2 separate regions of the Homo sapiens genome follow, and region 2 is linked to region 1. Evidence: promoter capture Hi-C in human tissues and cell types (Jung and others, 2019). All regions are on one chromosome and are shown on one strand. The core of a region is centred on a gene start or on the middle of the fragment in contact, and the rest is flanking DNA. Distances in the headings are between cores, read along the strand shown. Region 1 holds the start of BPIFB6 (BPI fold containing family B member 6). Region 2 overlaps BPIFB3 (BPI fold containing family B member 3).

Evidence for each region. The method cuts DNA at HindIII sites, captures the fragments that hold promoters and counts their contacts. A contact is called where the count stands out against the background at its distance.
Region 2: a contact is called between a fragment that was not itself captured here and the fragment with the promoter of BPIFB6 in region 1, in 1 of the 25 tissues and cell types used here (spleen).

What each region holds. Positions count from the first base shown.
Region 1 is chr20:33,030,368-33,033,710 of GRCh38, reverse strand. It overlaps BPIFB6 (BPI fold containing family B member 6), which reads right to left and starts at 2,063. Exons shown (of 15, transcript NM_174897.2): 1 at 1,967-2,063; 2 at 628-727. The coding sequence starts at 2,063. The HindIII fragment of the contact is 18,408 bases long and covers 1-3,343 here.
Region 2 is chr20:33,071,096-33,074,403 of GRCh38, reverse strand. It overlaps BPIFB3 (BPI fold containing family B member 3), which reads right to left. Exons shown (of 16, transcript NM_001376932.3): 13 at 3,109-3,151; 14 at 2,237-2,300; 15 at 1,611-1,687; 16 at 557-828. The coding sequence ends at 799. Among named protein-coding and RNA genes, the nearest start is that of BPIFB4, 6.9 kb to the left of the region's middle. The HindIII fragment of the contact is 5,429 bases long and covers 1-3,308 here.

The DNA.
Region 1 (3,343 bases), core at 814-3,313:
CCCTGGACATTGCCAAATGTCTTCTTGGAGGCAAAATCACCCCTGTTTGAGAATCACCAGTTGAGATCCAGGGTAACAAAAGATGTGGCACACATACCCCCACTTGCCCATCCTGAGCTCTTGGCAGACATTGCTAGTTGATCACAGTCCTAGTTCCTGCCGAGTGCAGACAGTGCCTCAGAGCCCTCCCAAGTGCATCGTTTCAGGCAGCCCCTACTGATCAATCTCATGTGGCACTGGCAGAGGAACCAGTTTCCTCTTGTCATTAGATGATTGTTGATGCCTTTCCAGCTCTACCATTTGAGGATGTTTTCATTTAATTTCACGTACATTCAATGAGTTCATGTTGCATGCAGAGTTGAAATTTGACTTTCCAACCTCATTTCCTCCTCAAAATGACCCTGCTCACTACAAAGCAGAAATTGTCCCCAGTGAATGGCTGAGGAGGTCCAGGCACAGGCAGGAGCAGTGACCTACCCAAGGCCACACAGCAAGACAGCACAAGGCAGGGAAGAGACCCCACATCCCTCACCAGCTCCATTACCTGGCCTGCTAAGATCTTGGGCACAGCAATCCCCACCACCCTCTGCCCTAACCACCACCCTCCAGCTCCCCTCCCCTACTCACTTGGTGATGCCCTTGATAGGTTTCATCCCTGGCTGTTTCTTGCCTGCCTCGGCTGCCATCTTCTCCAGGATATGACTCTCATCCATGGCGCTCTGGACCTCTGGAGTGGAGACACTTAGTTGGAGAGATTTTCCCTGGGCCAATCACTCAGGTATCCCAGGCCACTCACCGTCACTGTGCCCCACCCTGGGCTGGACGATGGCAGAGACCCAGAGATGAGTCCCACAGCGCCCCAGCCTAATGGGGGAAGATGGAGTCACCAGCAATGACAGTAACAAGCTGTAGGAGCCGCACGAGGGTTTAGGTAGGAAGAGAAGAGCTGGGGAAGGCTTCCAGGAGGAGGTGACAGATCAGTTGGTACTTGAAAGGGGAATAGTAATTTTCAGCAGGAAGCAAAGGGATAAAAGATATCAGTCTGGACAGAGGGCACAGCAAGTGCAAAGGTGGGTGGGAGAGAAGGTGGCACAGTTGGGGGAAGAGGATAGATTCAGCATGGCTGGAGGGTGAGGACAGACACGACAGAGAAACTGGAGCAGTTTGCAGGGGGCATGTAGTGAAGCTCTTGAACCCTAGGGTACTGACTTTATCCTGTGGACCAGCCACTCCCAAGCCTAGGTGATTAGGGGACTCCTCTGGGGACTTGAATGCAGACTTTGGGCCTGAAGCAGAGAAATTCTGATTCCCCAAACCTGGAGGACCCAACCCCAAGTAACACCCCGCCAGAAACACCTCCATTATGGTCACAAGCTAATTCCAGAGAGGGCACAAACACTGAGCTGGTAGAACAGTCATTAGCCTTTTGTACCTGGATGTGACTCGGTTTCCCTTGTGCTAGTGGAGTGGGGGATGGAGGTGGAAAACACATTTTACTAAGGTCTCCTCCAAGAGATTATTCTATCCTGCTAGGGACAGACTGGTCACCCTATTTTACATTTCTTTACATTTCACCTTTACAGATGAGCAAACAGCAACACAGGGAGGCCAAGTAACTTGCCTGAGGTCACACAGCAAGTTGTTGCTGGGATTTGACCCTTGTCTGTCACTCCCACAGCCCACTTGTGGCTAAAACCCCTGCCATCAGGGCCAAGGAGAGACTCCAAAGGAGCAGGATTTTCAGCTCTGCCTCTAACTTGCAGGGGGAGCATGGGAAAATCATCCCATTTTCTCTGGTCCTTGGTTTCTCCCCTCTGTAAAGTGGGAGAATAATAATAACACTTGCTTATAAGTTTACTTGGAGCTCACGGGATGCTCCAGGATGTGCAACCAAGAGCAGTGACTACCTACCACCTACCCCAAGCACCGCCTCCCAGCTGCACGCCCGGGCCCACAAGCTCACCACGGTTCATGATGTCCATGCCCAACCGCAGCAGTGCCCCAGGGTCAGCTCGCGTGCCAGTCAGCAGGCTGCAGAGTGCCAGGCACAGGATCCGCAGCATGGCACCACCTGTGCCAAGGGGCCTGAATTGGGCGCAGCCCACCAGACCCTGGTCCCCTTGGGGACCTTCTGTCTCAGAGCAGATTGAGCCCCCTGGGTGTTTCTGGGGTCCAAGAGCCTTTAGACTCCAGCCAGTTCAGCAAACATGAGCACTGCCCTCTTCCAAGGGATTGAGGAACCCCCAGATTAAACACAGGGCCTCCAGCCACCCCCAGCTAGCTCATTTCCCTCTGTAAGCCTCAGTTTCCCCATGGACATGGTGTGTTCTGACCAGCCTGCAAGATGGGGTTGGAGGAAGGTTCAACTGCAGTTTTTCATGGGTTCAAGGACGGCTGAATGCTGGAGCCACAGAGAGAGTTCCAGACTTTCCTTGAGCCCCACACGGCATTGTGGGAGTGGGGAGCCCTGTGTCCCCACCTTGACCCTACAGCCAGGGTCCCTCCCCACCTCTTCCAGCTCAGCTCACTTCCATGTGGAACTCAGAAAGCTCAACTCTGAGCCCTGAAAGGCCTCTTGAGACATCGCCTCTCCGATAGAGAAACTGAGGCACAGACATTAGGTCTCCTAGCATAAGGACCTCCCACCCCAGACCTTTTCAGGTTCCCAGGAAAGCCCTACCCCACCCCGGGCCCATAGAAATCCTTCCCTCTTACTTACCAAGATCTGAAACTCTTCCAACCAAGGGCCAAGTGTATATTTCAGTTTTGAGCTTTGGCTGAAAAGAATGAAGGCAGGGCCCATGGGAGCAGGGCCTATGTCCACCCAGAGAGAGGAGGTTCCCACCAGACTCTCTCTTGCTCTCAGCGGGCTAAGTCACTGAGGGCTCACCTAATGCACAAACTAAGATGGGCCCTTACCATGGGCCTGCCTTCCCAGTCCAAGCCAATGCCTGCATTCATTCACTCATTCACTCATTCATTCATTCGGCTCACATCTATTGGGTGTCTTCTCTGTGCCAAGCAGACCGGGCTTGTCTCTTTTATCTCGGTGGCAGAGACAGCCCTGCTCCTCCTAAATCCTAAAGTCTGGCAGGGAACGAGAAGCAATAGGGTGGGATATGGGATAAAGGGGTCAGGGACGGACTCCTTATGGAGGAAACATTTAGGCTGAGACCTGAGGGATGAAAAGGAGCTTAAGTATCGAGAAGTGTTCAAGCCAATAGTCAATATTCACTAAATGGAAGATATATCTGGGCTTAAAATAATCCACAGTAGCGCTTCTCGACCACTGTGAATGCACAGGTGCGTGCCATGACGTGTGCTCATGTCCCGGCACACCCCA
Region 2 (3,308 bases), core at 280-2,779, 41 kb before region 1:
CAACTCTGCCGCTGTGTGGACCAGGGCCAGCCAAGCCCTGCTCTGGCTTCAGTCTCCCCATCTGCACCAAGAGCGTTTGGCACAGCTCTGTTCTGAGCTGTGTCCATGTCTGATGTGCAGCCAATAGGGACCCCCCCACACCACAGGGCAAGAACAAGTCTCACTCATCCTTGCTTCCTGGGGTGCTAGTGCCTTTGTTTCCTGGAAAGCTCCTATTCTCCCTTCAAAATTCAGCTCAGATGTCACTTCTGATAAGCATCCCAAAGTCAGAAACAGAGAAAAATGCAGACTCAGAGAGAGAGAGAGTGAAAAGTAGAAGTATTTAGAGAAAGAGAGAGAGAGAGAGCTGGAGGCAAGGGGGGCAGGGACAGAGAGGAAGGCAGAACAGGACACAGAGGCTGCCCAGGCCAACAAGGTCAGTTTGGGACTCAAAGCTACAATGACAAGGCCCTGAGTCCCCTCACCTCCCAGAAGCTCCTACCTGGAGCTAAGGAGGGCACTGGAGGCAAAGGCCAAGTCAAGTCCTACGTGACTGGGGAATAAACCAGCCAGGAGATACCGAGATACAGGAGTCATTTATTGAAAGCTCAGGGTTTGCTACTGAGGCCCCAGAGCTCTCTCTGAGGCAGTTCTATGATTAGCCAGGCAGTTCCCACCCCAAACTTGGAGTAGTGCTTCAGGGCCAGAGGGCATTTTTACTGTCACCAACATCAGCTAGAGACTGGGAGGGAAATTGAGGCAGAGTAGACAGGTGGTCTCTAGTAGTCAACAGGGAAGGCTGGTGGCCATGTCTCAGCCTCAGGATGCCACGGTCAGCACAACAGCATTCTGTAAGGAACAACCGCTCTTGGTTACACCCCTGAGTCTCTGCAATGCCCCATCCCTGCAGCCATCTTTACTCCCCTGCCCTGGGATTGGCCCTGTACCTGGAACACAGCAGGCACTCATTAAATGAATAAATGAATGATGAAAAAATGACATCCAGTGTGGGACAGGCTCTGACTTGAGGACTTAATAGACTCAAGTTCAACTGCCATTTCTGCTATTAATTTACTGGTGAACTTGGGCCAGAAATCTGACCTACTTCAGCCTTGGTCCTCATCTGAGAAATGGGTACAGAACTCTCTGCTCTGCCCACCTCCTAGAGCTATTCCACCACCCAAAGTTGGGCTGGTTTGAAAAGGATTGTGAGGCCATATCAATATTCCACAAGAAAAAGGGTCATGATCCATTGGTCATATCTGCTGCAGACACAAGATAAGGGAGAGATGGCATATGTATTTGTTGCTGTTGGACCAGGGGAACTGTGATTCTGTGAGTGAATCTTAGGTTCCATTCTAGAGGCCAGACATGTCTCTGAATCCAATGGGAAAGAACTCCGTGATTGATTGATGATGTCTGCCATGGGCAAGAAATGGAGGAGTAGTAGCACACATGTCATATATTTGCCATTCCTAAGTTAGGCAATTTGTAACTCACTGAGAAATTTAGAAAATGGATCAGGGACAGACAAGAGGATGAAGCAAAGCATTCCCCTCATTAGTTTCAAGCAGAGCTTTCCAGAGACAAGCTTAAGGCCCACCTGGGCCGTATCTGCAGAGAAGGCTCACCTCTACGATCTCCAGAACTGAATTGGAAAAATTGATATTAAGAACCTTAGGCAGGGGAATTCCAACATCCAGGGCCACTGTGAAAAGAGAATCGTTGAAAACAAAGGTACATTGGTGGGGAGCTCTTGGACCCTAGGAACCCTCGGACCCTGCTGACCCTATTCCATCACTTTCACTAGCCAGCCAGTTCTCTTCTCACAGAATCAGCTTCTTATTGGCAAACTCCTACTCATCCTCCTACACCCAAACAAAAATGTCCCTATTCTGTATTGTGTCAGTGGTGCCCCCGTGTCAAGCCTCCTAAAGGCTTCATCAATCCCTTACACACTCTGGGTCATCTATATTCTAATCATTTGTTTATATGATTATTTCCTACTAGACTGTGGGAGCTTAAGGCAGGACTGAGGTCAGATCAGCGCTTGAAGTCCATAGGCTGGCAAGATGTAGGTGCTAATCAATGTCATTTAAATGGAAAAATTGGTGCCTCAGTTTCTGCATCTTGCAAATGAGGATCGACCTCTCTCTCTGGCCTCAGTGTCCCCATCAGAACCATAAAGAGAGGCAACAGACTAGACAATACCAAATTCAGACACTCCATGTGTCCAAGAGAGCAAAACCTGCCATACCGTTAAGCTTTGGTGCATACACTGCCCCGACCACATGGCTGAGCCATTCTTCTAAACGCGATCCCTGCAACAGAACACACAGGGTGGTGGGGGTGGTGCTCTGGGGTGTGGCTTTACAGGCAGCAGCATCCCGTTCCCAGGGAGAGAAACCCAGGGGCCCAGCTGCCTCAGCCTCCCCCAAGCCTGAGGACACAGCTCCTGGCAGGCACTGGGCACTTGGGGGTGGCCTGGGCTGTCCACCAGTGACCTCGAAAGAGATTCTGTGATTTAGGCTGGCTTTACCCCAGGCCCCATGAGCTTGGAAGAAGTGCCTTCCTATAAGACTCTGTTGGGGCTGGAGGTGGGCAGTGCCTAAGAAAGAGGGAAGGAAATGTGCCCAGCTCCAGTCTATGGGGTCTGACCTTAGATTCCTGTCAGTTTAGGGACTCTGAGAATGTTCTAGAACCTGAGCCCATGGTGAGATTCCAGAACCTCAGAACTCTGTAAGAAGCAGGAACCTCGGGGCTCTGTGAGCTCTGAAATGGAACTTGCTGAGTTCGGGAAATTTATTACTTGGGAGAAGTTCCAGAATGATGGACCCTTGTGAGGTTCTAGATGTCCACAACTTTGTGAGGTTCCAAGACCGTGGAAGATCATGAGATTCACTTTCCTAAGATGATCACTGTTTCTCTCTCTCTCTCCCCACTGCCCACACCCCCTGCTCTCTCTCACGCACACCCGCCCTGATATTTGCCCACTCTGGCTTAATTGGGGAGGATCCCAGTCCTGAGGTCAGCTCAGTCATATGGCCCATGACTCATGGCCACCCCCTTTCCATGCCACACCTGAAGACTCTCATCACTGCCAAGCCCCTCACCCTCCCAGGAACTTACGTCAAAGGCATGGGTAAAGGAGGAGGCCACCTTGACACTGAGCCTGGTGGAGAGAAGAGAGATGCTGGGGCCCCCGCTACCCCCAACCACCCCTGTCCCACCCCCAGCCTGCCCCACCATAGCTCTCATCATCAGGAAACAGGATTACCAGCCCAACACTCTGCCTCTATCCAGCCTTGACTCAGAGACTCAGTTTTCCT